2 separate regions of the Homo sapiens genome follow, and region 2 is linked to region 1. Evidence: promoter capture Hi-C in 16 types of primary human blood cells and fetal thymus (Javierre and others, 2016). All regions are on one chromosome and are shown on one strand. The core of a region is centred on a gene start or on the middle of the fragment in contact, and the rest is flanking DNA. Distances in the headings are between cores, read along the strand shown.

The links. Contacts are between HindIII fragments. The CHiCAGO score rates a contact against its expected background, and 5 or more counts as called.
Region 2: a contact is called between a fragment that was not itself captured here and the fragment with the promoter of PRICKLE2-AS2 in region 1, in 1 of 17 cell types (megakaryocytes). The highest score is 5.6, in megakaryocytes.

The regions. Positions count from the first base shown.
Region 1 is chr3:64,100,389-64,106,929 of GRCh38, forward strand. PRICKLE2-AS2 (PRICKLE2 antisense RNA 2) reads left to right here and starts at 3,082. Exons shown (of 4, transcript NR_046701.1): 1 at 3,082-3,116; 2 at 4,105-4,345; 3 at 5,331-5,507; 4 at 5,626-5,970. The region is part of intron 7 of PRICKLE2 (prickle planar cell polarity protein 2); the gene reads right to left. PRICKLE2-AS1 (PRICKLE2 antisense RNA 1) reads left to right here. Exons shown (of 3, transcript NR_045697.1): 3 at 1-2,743. The HindIII fragment of the contact is 2,788 bases long and covers 1,931-4,718 here.
Region 2 is chr3:64,021,212-64,028,441 of GRCh38, forward strand. LOC105377121 (a long non-coding RNA gene) reads left to right here and starts at 2,864. Exons shown (of 3, transcript XR_940906.3): 1 at 2,864-2,940; 2 at 3,414-3,531; 3 at 5,001-5,149. PSMD6 (proteasome 26S subunit, non-ATPase 6) reads right to left here and starts at 2,283. Exons shown (of 8, transcript NM_014814.3): 1 at 2,064-2,283; 2 at 1,107-1,312. The coding sequence starts at 2,208. RefSeq lists enhancers at 1,585-2,207, 1,892-2,241, 2,208-2,829 and a silencer at 2,392-2,491. The HindIII fragment of the contact is 547 bases long and covers 5,703-6,249 here.

The DNA.
Region 1 (6,541 bases), core at 1,832-4,331:
CCACAATATTGGGCCAGTTCACTTCTCTGTTAGCCCGCAGCAGTTTCCTGCTTTGCCTGCTGTCCCTAAGTGGCAGGTGGCTCCCTATCAAAAGTGTCTTGGACACTAAGTGACTCCCTAGATATAGATAGAGAAATATTTACTCTCTCAGACCATTCAGTGAATGCTCCAAGGTTGTAAATGGGTCTCTAGCAGCCAGAAGATGTGTGTGGGACCCCAAGGGACCTCTCGGTCGCACGGGGAGGGACTTTCAAAAGTAAAGCAGTGGGTTTGATGCTCTCAAACAGTGGGTGCCCCAGCAATGGACCTCCATTTCTTAACTGCTGTCAAATGAGCTCTTGGCATCCCTGAGATGAAAACCATTTTGAAGGTAGTGGGAGATACTGACTGCAGTAACTTCCATTTTGCTCATTTTCAGGCAGAGCTCTCTAAGGAGATGTTTAAGAATGGGCCAGGTGGCAAAGTCTCAGCATTTTCCACTCATTACATATTGCAAGGATCAGCAATTTGCCATTCCTGGTCATAGACAACATGCCTTTGGATTGCAATGGCCCATTATCACCCCTGCTACTGATTATTCCTGTCTCCTACTGGGGCCTCCAACTTCCTCTTCCGTGACAAAACCTAAAGCAGTGTTACGAGCACTTTGCAAAATTACTTGGCAATATTTACTAAAGCTAAATACACATATACGTATATGAATTATAAATAAAGCCGCTCTGAATATCCTTGGCCATTTTTTGTGGACTTATGAATTTCTGTTGGGTGTACGACCAAGAGTAGAAATTCCACAATTCTCCATCTTCACTCTTGATTATATATTCATCAGAAGTTAGTAAGAAGGTCCAAGAAATGGACAAGGGTACTCAGAGAAGCTTTCTTGTAATAGCCCAGAAACGGAAACAACTCAAATGTCAATTATCAGGAAAATGGATAAATATATTGTGGTTTTTTCTACCATTCCCCACTAAAAGGAATCCAGGCTCTTTAGAAAGATGGCCAATTCCAGGATAAAGGCAAGGAAATTAAAAGAACCAGGATCTTGTTATGCCATAAAGTGAGAAAGTATTAAAAATAAGATATGGCAGGGGTTTGTCAGAAGGACACAGGGCCTAACTTGAAGGGGCCCCCACTGGCCAAATCTGAACAATTTGAGCACTCAAATATTTAAGTGAAGTAATGATTTATAAACCACTGAAACAAATAGGAATTCACAAGTCCATGCTGATAGCAGATAAATAAAAACATAAATAAATACACAAACAGGGAAAAGAGAGGGCTCTATGTATAGTGGAATGCCAACCGCTGTCAGTAGAGTAAGTTCACAAGAAGGAAGGGGGTGCCAGATTTGGAAAGTCATTTTATAACCATTGGAGGTAGAGTGCTTCACACAAGAATCAAAAAGTGTGCTAAATTTAGGGGGTAAAATTTGATGGGGGAGAGCATTGTTTTAAAGTGTTTCCCTACACATTGCTTATTAGTTGCAAGGGAAGAATTAGTAACTAAACAAAGGTAAAATCAGACAACACCTTGACCTTAAGTTCAAACTTAACATCCCTGGTGAGATGCAACTGCACCCTGCATGCCTCCAGTTGAGATGTACTCAGAAGGGCACACTATCCCTTATGTAGTATTCCAGTCAAGAATGTATTACCCGAATGCATTCAGGAGGAAACATTAGACAGATGCCAAAAGGAGGGACATTTGTTATGAAAAAAGGGACTGTAGTCTTAAGACCAGACAAGACTGAGAGAATGTTCTAGATGAAAGGGTACGAGGGAAACATGGCAATTACATATAATACCTGATCCTGGACTGGAACCTGCTCTTTAGGGAAACTAAATGCTATAAAGTAGGGGTTCCCAGACCTCAGGCTACAGACTGGTTAGGAGCAGGGCCACACAGAAGGAGGTGAGTGGTCAGTAAGGGAAGCTTCATCTGCATGTACAGCCACTCCCCATTGCTCCAACTACTGCCTGACCTCTGCCTCCTGACAGATCAGCAGCAGCATTAGACTCTCATAGGAGTGTAAACCCTGTTGTGAACTGCTCATGCAGGATCTAGGTTGTGTGCTCCTTACGAGAATCTCATGCCTGATGATCCATAACTGTCTCCCATTACCCCTAGATGGGACTGTCTAGTTGCAGGAAAACAAGCTCAGGTCTCCCACTGACTCTACCTTAAAGTGAGTTGTGTAATTATTTCAGTATATATTACAATGTAGTAATAATAGAAATAAAGTACATAATAAATGTAATGCACTTGAACCATCCCAAAGCCATCCCCACCCCCTGGCCCCAGTCTGTGGAAAAATTATCTTCCATAAAACCGGTCCCTGGTGCCAAAAAGGTTGGGGACTGCCTCTATAAAGGATAACTTTTGGTCAACTGAAAAAAAAATGGAACATGGGCAATAGATAAAAGTATTATGCTAAATTTACTGTGGTCAATTAATAATGGTGATAATGTGGGAGAAGATCTTTACTCTTGGGAAATATATATGGAAGGATATGGTGGTAAATGGCCCAGATGGATGCAATTTGCTCTCAAATGGTTTATAAATAAAATGTGTGTGTGTGTGCGTGTGTGTGCATGCATGTGAACATGAAAGAACAAATGTGGCAAAAGGTTAACAATGGATCAATCTACGTAAAGAGTACATTACAGGTGTTGTTTGTTCTATTTTTATAACTTTTTTTAAGTCTGAAATTATTTCCAAATAAAAAGTTTCTTTAACATTAGAATATATTCATCTGATATGATGGTTTTTAATTCTGAAGGAAATTTGGAAACATCTGGACACATTTTTGGTTGTCACTATTAGGATGGGATTCTCCTGGCGTCTAGTAGGTAGAGGCCAGAGATGTTGCTAAACATCCTACAGTGTGAAGGATGGCTTCCTTGCCTCCACACAGAATTTTCCAAACCAAACTGTCAACAGTCTCAGAAGAAACCCTGATAAAATGGAATATTACACAATAATGAGAACGAATAACTACACCCAAGAACATGGATGTATCTCATAGAAAATGCTTGGACATGCAAAAAGAATATGTGCTGTATGATTCCATTTATATGAAGTTCAAGAACAGGCTGAGGCTATCTATAGTGATACAGGTCAGGGCAGTGGGAGGAGGGGGTATGAAGAAGGCTTCTAGGGCACTGCAATTGTTCTATAACTAAATCTGGATGGTGGCTGTAAAACAATACACATGTGTAAAAATTCACTGAGATGTAGTTTTAATATTGGTTTGCTTTATTCTGTGTAAATTATATCTCAATAAAATGGAGTAAAAGTAAAGCAACGTTTGGCCAGGTGTGGTGGCTCATGCCTGTAATCCCAGCACTTTGGGAGGCCAAGGAGGGTGGACTGCTTGAGCTCAGGAGTTCAAGACAAACCTGGGCAACATGGTGAAACCCTGTCTCTACTAAAAATACAAAAATTAGCTGGGCATGGTGGTGCGTGCCTGTAGTCCCAGCTACTTGGGAGACTGAGGTGGCAGTATCACCTGAGCCCAGGAGGTGGAGGCTGCAGTGAGCCGAGATTGTGCAACTGTGCTCCAGCCTGGGCAACAGAGCGAGCCCCTGTCTCCAAAAAATAAACAAATAAATAAATAAAAAATAAAACAATGTTTGTTAAAGGGTCAAATTTTAACATTGGATATGCCTATAAAGAAATTAATCAGCTAAATATCATATACTCCAGTAATTTTTTGTTTCAATTTCGTTCCTGGGATAACTGTCAGGGCAATAGCAGCTGGGGCCTCCAATCGCTTGCTTACTCTGCTGCTTATCTCTTACATACAAATCATAAAAGCCGATTTACAACAGCCTAATCACTTCCAGAGCCTCCCCAATATGAAAGCAGAGAGGAGAGGATAACAACCTAAGATGATGAATGAGTGGTTTGAGTGGATGAACTCTAGTAAGAAAGGAAAGAAAACATCTTCAAACTCATGTCTAGAAACAAAAGGTGGACACAATGATCTTTGCAGGGCTTTCCAACCTAGCTCTTGAGTAGAATTAGGGTCAGCATAAATAACTTAGCAAATACTATTAATTCCCCAGCATGCTGTTTTCCCGAACCTGTCTTTCATAAGCCCAGAAGTGAAATGTTTTTGAGAGCATCCTGCTTGTGAACAGATTCCTATTTCCGTGAGGAGGTGACCTCGAAGAAGAGCAGCTTCTATTCTGCTGGGAGGTGTACTGCCTTCTGGTATCAGGCTTCTGCATCCCGGGAAAGCTCGGGATAACCTGAGGCACCCCCTTGAAAAACAAAAGAGCTTGATCAGAGCAGGAGGGTCCTGTTGCACAAGCCCAGCATCTACTATCAGTTTCACCTAAATGTAAGCCATTCATTCCCCTGGACTATGTGTGGGTGGGACTGGAAATACTACCTGCTCACTCTAGAGAGGAGAAATGCCTCTCTTCTGATTCATTAACTCAGATTTTCCTCCAGGGTCTTCTTGCATGCAGGGCATGAACAGAAAGGCCAATGTTGACCAAAGATGAGCAATAACTGTGTACTTGCCTCTAGAAAGGGTAGTTCTGTGGTTACTTTCATTACTGGCAAAATCTAGAATCCTTACGCAGACCTTAAGGCCCTACGTGACTTGGCTCTCTTCTCTTTCTCCAAGATAATCAACTAAACACTCCTCCTCGCTTAACTCTGCTTCAGCTGTGCTTACATTCCTCCCTGTCTCCCCAAACACAACAATAAGCTTATTCCAGCAGGCCTTGGAAAACTCTTCCCTTTGCATGCCTGACTTCTGTTTGTTAAAGTCCTCGTGTAGATGTCACCTCCTCAGCAGTGTCATTTCTGAACACTCCTTCTAAAGTAGCAAAGTTAGTTGTCTTCTGGCCAACCACTCACTATTGCACTTGACCCTTTTTTAAACTACTCACCCTGACTTATTAAGGTCATATGTAAGTTTGTAGCTGAATGAATCCCCTGGGAGCCAGGATCTTCTCCCTACTCTTCACTGTATTCTTGCAGAGCTAGCAGTGCCCAGTACCCTTTGGTGCTCAATACATACTCATGGAATAAACGTAAATGGATTCTCATGTTACCCACAGCTTGGAAAAAAGCAACCACCCTCCAACCTGGAGTGGGTCAGTGCTGTGATCCACATGGGTGGGATTCCAAACATCCAGAAAAAAATACCATGATCACACCTGTCAATCTCCATCTCTGGTGATTCATTATATAGCCCACCATCTGGGGTTTCTCCAATTTTAAAGTCAAAGTACACGTGATTTATAATGAGCTCCCTGCACTGCAGAAATGTTTTCTCCTTACTAATCACAGCTCTGTTGATGTGTTTAAATTAGCAGCTGATACTGTCCCCAAGATGGAACTGTACTGTCACAGGTCACACTCCAACTTGAGAAGCACTCCTTTCCCCTCTAACTACGAACAGAACTGGAGAGCTACTTTCTGGCTGGGTGACTTGGGGAAATTTGTAAACCTCTTGAGATGCATCAGTAAGATGGGCATAATGACAGGAAGTGAGTACTAAAGCTGTAGTGATGATTAGATGAGGAAAAATATATCTTTCCTTTTTAAGGTTCATCATGACTATGGTGCATCTGTGTAGTTGTTGTTTCATCTCTGTCTTCTTGACAGATCAGCAGCTCCAAGAGGGCAGAAACTGTGCTCCTGTTTGCTAGCCCTGACCTCATACCTGGTATTCAGTATGCAGGAAGAAGGTTTAGTAAGGCCTAAAATTCCCCAAGGAAAGAAAGCATGCCTCAAGACTGTGAATGCCCTCCAGACATTTACAACTCATACTGATGATTTAGCTCCCTTTCAGTAGGGTCTTTCCTATATTATTTATTATTTATGTGCTGGGGCAGAGACATGAAGAAAATGGAGCTGTTTAGAACAGGAGTTTGCAAACTGCAATGGCCAGTGAACCAAATCCAGCTCACCGCTCACTGCCTGTTTTTCTAAATAAAGTTGTATTGGAACACAACCACACCTATTCATTTGCATATTGTCGAGGGTTGCTTTCTGGAGTTGGGAGTTGTGACAGACTGTATGACCTGCAAAGACTCAAATATGTTACAGGCAAACAAATATCATTGAATGCATGATTGTATGGATTAATGAATTTGAGAAACAGGGCCTGATGCACTGATATCCACTTGAACGCCAGCCACTGTTGTAAATTATCTGTGCCTCCAAACCGTGGCTGGGATTCCTCCTCTACACAGACGAAGCTCAACTCTTCACTCCATTTGTCTGTGCTGAACACGACACAGTGTCAAAATAATGCAAATCAATAGAATCCAACCTAATGGGGCTCTAACATGCCCTTACTCTCCTGTAATAAACACATTTTTCTTTTCTTGTTGTTTAAGCCATGGGGTGTGTGTGTGTCTGTGTGTGCGTGCTCAAGCACATGTGTGATAGGGAGGTGGGAGCTGCAAGCTAAATTTGCCAGAGAACTCTGGCTGCAGCACATAGTCCAGGGCAGTATCAGTACCCCTACATCCTCTGGAGGATCTGGCAGAAGAATCCCACCTGATGGCAAGGAGAC
Region 2 (7,230 bases), core at 4,726-7,225, 76 kb before region 1:
AACAACACATATGTCCAACAACAGCTGAACAGGCAAATAAACTATGCCAGAGCTAGCTCTACAGTGGAACATTAGGCAGCAGTTAACCAGGATGAGCCAGATTTATGTATGTTGGCATGGAAAAGACCTCTTAAATATAATGCTGAATGAAAAGGGCAAACAGGACTACACTAATACACTATGATCCTATGTACTTAAAAAAAAAATTCTGTAGAATTAAAAATTTCTGCAAGTATTAACTTTTTTAAAAATTGGTTCTTTCATTGAGCATTTATATTCTTTTACATATAAAATTTTACGTAAAAAAGATTTTATGACCGGGTGCACTGGCTCACGCCTATAATCCCAGCACTTTCGGAGGCCGAGACAGGTGGATCACCTGAGGTCAGGAGTTCGAGACTAGCCTGGCCAACATGTTGAAATCCAGTCTCTACTAATAATACAAAAAAATTAGCTGGGTGTGGTGGCGCACGCCTGTAATCTCAACTACTCGGGAGGCTGAGGGAGGAGAATCGATTGAACCCAGCAGGTGGAGGTTGCAGTGAGCCAAGATCACTCCATTGTACTCCAGCCTGGGTGGCAAGAGTGAAACTCCGTCTCAAAAAAAAAAAAAAAATTACCAAAAAGTTTGCATAAATGCACAATAAAAGAACTGAAAAGCCTATCCCTGGGCAGGTACAGAGTAAAGAAAGATAACAGAACTTCAGCATTTACTATACTGTTTCTTAGTTTCTGCTAAGTATTACTCGTGTAAAGTACTAAAGACACCAGAACCAGTGCTTCCCAACCAAGTGAGAAAACTGCTGAAAATGATCCCAATTTTGTAAAAGCAGTAAATAAAATTCTCTAGATGTACACTTACGTTTTTATCGGCATGGGGTGAAATGGGGAAGAATACAGCCCTAGCTGCTGTTTGGGGAAATGACAAGGCATTTCATGGAGACGACTTTTTCATCTTTACATTGATTCACCAGTACAAGCAAGCATGATTACCTTTATACTTTTTCTAAAACGAAGTTAATTTTTTTAATGAGAAACGATTACCTGGAATAGTCTCCAATTTTAGCCTATACTAACTACAGAGAGGGAAAACCATCTCTACTCACTTTGTCACCTATCCGGCAGAGGTACTCGGCCTTTGCCATCATTGCATCGCGAATTTCGCTCTCTCCTAGATTCTTCTCTGCATCTTCCAGCTCCTCATCCAAACGCTTCAACTCATCTTCATTTGCCTTCTTCATTTTATTGAGTAGGTCCACGTCTATCTGCCAGTCGAGGGATTTGCACAAGGCTTCATAGTAAGGAGCCATGTCTAACATGCAAAAAGAGGGATGTGTGAGTGGGGACACTTGTGCCCTCAAGTCAAAGTCTGCCCACGTATTTCACCCCCCGCCCCGCCACAAGTCATCCACCAGTCTCTTCCCCACTAACAGGAAGGCATGCGATGGCGCTTAATAATCGGCTTGGCAAAACATAAACGTATGCTGGTGGGAGGTTTGCGTGACGGCCAATCCTGGCAATGCCAACCTCTACTAGGGCTGGAGGGAGGGCAATCCTCGGTTTGCTCTTGCCGGATTCTGTTCCAAAAGTCTTCAAACAGGGAAAGACTTTTTATACACACATACTCACATACATATGTTCAAACATACACATTCACTACAGAAGGGCCAGAAAGAACCGAACCCAAATTTCCCTTCCACAGGCAAGCTGAACTCTCCCACAGGAATACCCCGCGCCCGGGAGCAGTCCCCACTGACAGAAAGTCACGGGGCCTTTACTCTGTGCCTAGCACAGGGGTAAATATTAATGCCTCACGATTCTCCCCCAAGCTGCCCTTACAGGGGAAGGCGGCACAGAGAGATGCAGACCCCGCTGAGGCAAGTCGAGGTCCCCCAGGGTATCCCCAAACCAAAGCAAAACCCTAAGGGCCGGAGAAGCCAGGCCTGGTCTCTGAGACCCCGTCAGAGGGGTCTGGAGCTCCATCAAAAAAAGTCCCCGCAGGCTCCGGAACGCGGGGACGGCCCAGGCCTAGGCCGCTGACTCGGCGCTCGTGCGGGCCTCACTGTTATCGCGGACGGCCGCCATCAGCTCGTCGCGCACGGCAGCGTCTCCGCGGTGCTCGGGCAGGCTGAGCAGGAAGCGCAGCTGCGCGATACGCAAGTCGGGGTTCTTGGGCAGACCCTCCTCCTCCAGGTTCTCCAGCGGCATCGCGGCGAAGGGGACAGCGGCTGACAGGACACAACTTGGTTACGACCGGCTGCGGCAGCGGAAGCGGGAGGAGTCGGCGAATACGCCCGGCCGCCTGCGGCCCGGCTTCCGGTCCCGTCTCCGCCGGCAGCGTCCTCTGCTGGACACCTCCGGGAACGCCTCACCCGGCCTGGGCGCCTGCGCCCCTGTGTGGTCACGGGGGCTTTTCCACCCTCAAGGCCCCCTGCGGAGTCCCAGAGTGGGTGCAGCCCAACTCAAAAGCCCAATTTCTTGAATCTCTTTCTCACTCCCTTTTTAGCTATTTTACTTTCCGTTTGTAACTGATGGGAGCTTAAAATTTTTTGAAAACTGAAAATGTAATAACAGCATTAATAAAAACAATCACCATAGTTTGTCGAGTCGTTACTCTCATTCATCTTATTAAAATCATCTTCATGCTGCGAGGTAGTACTATTAGCCTATTTAGTAGGTAAGACAAATGAGGCACAAAGAGGTTAGGGAAACAGACCAACCAAGGTCATGTAACAGCCATGTCGCAAGGCCTAAATGAAAACCCCTATCTAGAACTCTAAAATCCACATTCTTTCTGCGGTTTTAAGAAGAAAAAAAAACTGCACCCAGGATTCTACGTCATAGTACAACAGCATCATCGTTTTGTTTACACATAAATTAAATCATTACATGCCTGCATTTTCAGCTTCCTTTTGTTCACATTGCTACAGATCTTCAGAGGTGGTAATCTTTACATTAAATTCCTTTTTTTTTTGAAACGGAGTCTTGCCCTGTCACCCAGGCTGGAGTGCAGTGGCACAATCTTGGCTCACTGCAACCTCTGCCTCCCAGCTTCAATCGATTCTCCTGCCTCAGCCTCCCAAGTAGCTGGGATTACAGGCCTGCACCACCATGCCGGGCTAATTTTTGTATTTTTAGTAGAGACGGGGTTTCACCATGTTGGCCAGGCTGGTCTTGACCTTCTGACCTCAAGTGATTCCCCCGCCTCAGTCGTCCAAAGTGCTGGGATTACAGGTGTGGGCCACCATGCCTGGCCTAAATTCCATCTAATGGATTTACCATAATTTACTTTCACTCTTCCCTCTGTTAGAGGTGTCTTTAGGTTGACCAGAGTTTTTACTTACCTAATATAAAAACTTGGATGAAGACTTTGGATGTCTAGATCACTTCATGTTTTGCATCTTTTTCCTTAGCATAAAATCCCATGAAGGAATAACGGACAAAGGGAAGAAGGATTTTGTGACTTGGGGATATTTAATGTTAAATGGTTTTCCAAAAGAGCTGAACCAGTTTACACAGCTGCTGAAACAGGTGAGACTGCCACATCTCACAGGCAGTAGGCATCATCACATAATTTAAATCTATTATTTGTTTCTATAAAAATGAAACAAGCATTTTGAAGACAACTCAAATGATAGAGAAAATATGAAGAGTAAAAAAAAAATACTATTAAATAGCTCTCCACCACTGCTAAACTTTTGGTAAAAAACTTTCTAAAATTCTTTCATTTAGTCATTCAACAAACATGATTGCATGGTTACAAAGTACCAGGCACTGTCTTAGGCCTCAAGGACTCAGCAGTGAAGAGCACAAAGCCCTGTCTTTGGAACTTACATTCCAGAGAAGCATAGCTTCTTTAAAACTCATCTGGGTATATTAACATGATCATTCTATACTCGCACATTTTAAACTGTGTTTTATTCATTCTACCATGTATTGTGGATATCTTGGATGACAATGGATTGACCATATAGGATTCCATTATATTTATTTCTGTTTGTTTGTTATTTTTGAGACGGATCTCACTCTGTTTGAGACGGATCTCAGGCTGGAGTACAGTGGGGTGATCTTGGCTCACTGCAACCTCCATCTCCCGGGTTCAAGCGATTCTCCTGCCTTGGCCTCCTGAGTAGCTAGGATTACAGGCACGTGCCACCAAGCCTGGCTAATTTTTGTATTTTTAGTAGAGACGGGGTTTCACCATATTGGCCAGGCTGGTCTCGAATTCCTGACCTCAGGAGATCCGCCCACCTCAGCCTCCCAAAATGCTGGGATTACAGGTGTGAGCCACCACACCCGGCCCATTATATTTCTATACCAACTTTTTCTTCATCAGTCCTTAAGTGCTGGTTGATTTGGGTTATTTTTGTTTTTTTCAATCTTATTAATATTACAGTGTCACTTATCCGTGTACATATATATTTTCACACTTAAATAGTTATTTCTCAATCTAAATCTCTAGACGTGCAATTGCTGAATAAGAGGGCATTAATATTTTATATTTTGATGTATTCTGTAAGTATTTTATGAATTATTTTCCACAAATGATATATATATCAATTTACATTGCCACTAATATTGAACAGAGAACCTGCAGGGGAGAAAAAGTAGTATCCTTTCTTCACCCATTGCGAGGTTCATAGCTGAGGCACCTATAATAAAAGATAGAATAGCAGGGCCAGGAGAGGTGGCTCACACCTGTAATCCCAGCATTTTAAGAGGCTGAGGCAGGCAGATCACGAGGTCAGGAATTTGAGACCAGCCTGGCCAGCATGGTGAAACCTCATTAGCAGGGCATGGTGGCGCACACCTGTAGTCCCAGTTACTCGGGAGGCTGAGGCAGGAGAATTGCTTGAACCCAGCAGGCGGAGGTTGCAGTGAGCTGAGATTGTGCCACTGCACTCCAACCTGGGTGACAGAGTGACACTTTGTCTCAAAAAAAATAAAATAAATAAAATAACAGAAGAAAAGCATACAAATATATTTAATATAAATTTTAGGTGACATGAGAGCCTTTGGAAATGAAGACCCAAAGAAATGAAGAAATCTGTATATTTGTAAGGTAAATTTGATGAAGAATGGACAGTTATGTAGAAGTATGATTGGTCAAAGGGGGTGTGATGTGATGGTAATAAACTGGGGGGACTTACCAAGGTCTGTGTGTTCAGATTCTTCTCTGTGTCCCTGTATCTTCATATATAAGGGATTTCTTTTCTTTGAGCATAGGGATAATATGTTTGGAATGAGGGTCTTATGACCTACCTTATAGGAAGTTCAGGGAATTCTTTTATAACTGGCTTCAAGCGAGAAGGGCACAGAGAAGATGAGAGTGACCTTCCTGCTTCTACCACTTCCTCAAAGCACAAGGTGTGATATTTTGAGATTGCGTGTCCTGAACCCCATCAGACCTGTCTCCCAATGTACTTTCATCAGCTATTTTAAGTTTTGCTAACAGTTGCTTTTCCTTTGCATTCCTTTTATGATTGGTGAGGTTAATCTTTTTTTCACATTTTACTGACCACATATATTTTCTGTTTTATGAAATTCTTGTTTGGCTTTGTCAATTCTCTATGGAATCTTTCCTCACTGACTAGTAAGCAATCTTCATATTTTAAGGATATTAACTTTGTTAATTTCCAAGTATCACAGTTTCCCCCCTCATTTATTTTTCTAAATTTTTAGGGGTTTTTCTTCAACATAAAAGCTTACAATGTTTACATAGTTAAATGTATCAGCCTGTTTACATTTGTGACAAGAATTGGATGTATGATCCAAAACTCATGTTGAAGTATAGGGGGAAACCTGTATAAATAGTCTTGTAGTTTAAATTGTATGTGACTGGTTCATTCTGGTTTCCAGTTCGTCCTAGTATAGACGCATAATCAAATTAAGGTTGCAATTGCCAGAAAATCTCAATTGCAGGGGATTCTATGACTCTTCATTATTCCAGGTGCAAATGAGCTTCAAGGTGCACAATGCCCTGCTGTCAGCCTCTCCACTCAGCACAGAGGAGACCAATTTCCAGTCAGATCTGTCTTCTTCTCTTTTTACTATCATAACCATTAATTGCTGAGGAATCAATCGAGCCCTGAACTGTGGCTGTGATTTGACTGCCCAGCTGATCAAAGCAGCTCTTTGCCCCATATTGACAACTCATTATTGAACAGTAAATTGTCCATTCCATCAATCTCTTTGTAGCCATTAACTCAATTTGACTGGATTAACTAGTTTTACAAAGCCCCTTCTTTAAGCTTGAAACCTGAGGTTTTTGTAATCTCAGGGAGGAAAAATAAATGTGTATCTTCTTGGTAGATATATATCCTGCCCCATGGAAATTAAAATGTTTGATGGAAACAGGCTATGGTGAGCTAAGGGCATACATACCTTTTCTTATTTGCTCTGGTTCTAGGGTTTATTTTAGAAAGCACTCTTTCTTCCTTTTTTTATCTGTGTTGCAAGCCCTTTGCTATTAGAACCTGGTTTTATTTCGAGATCGCACCAAGCAGGGCCCTCCTCCTTTTCAGCCTTTGTACTTTTCCTTTATGTGAGATTATATGGCTCTGAAAAGGCTGCTCTGATTTAGGGCACTGGATTCCTTCATTCTGAGCAGAGCGTCGTCAGCTCTCTGTACAGGCCCCACGGGCTGTTGATTTTGATGACTACCATGCCCACTGCATAAAACAATGTTCCTCTAAGTGTATAATTGACTTTATCTGCTTTGCTCACTTTTAATTACATGCACTTTCAGCTTTTTCATTGAATTTCAAATAATTTATGTGCGCGGCCCTGATTATAGCTTTCCTGCATATGTCCAAGATGGGTTTGTGCAGGCGGAGTTATCTCTGCTCCTGCCAGCATCCTTCCTGTTAGGCAGTTATTGATTACACCACATAGGATGGAAACTTTACATAGAGTATCCGCTTGGAACGCACAAAAATTTCAGGGTTATTGCAGCATCATGATCAATTGATGTAGCATGCTCATTTCTTCCTCACTAAATTACTCCTTTCCAAAAGAGTATTTTGAAGGAAAAAGAGTGCTTAGGAAACACTGTTGTTTCTGGAGCAGGTTGGGTAATTGCTGAGAGCAATATCAGTTTTCTTTTTCCATGACGAGAAGACACTTGCACAAGGCAGGGAGAGTGAAATGTGTCCCCCAGGATGACACACTTCATGCAACCCCACTGTTAGCATAGACCTCTTACTATGTGCTGGGGTACCAGACAGAGCA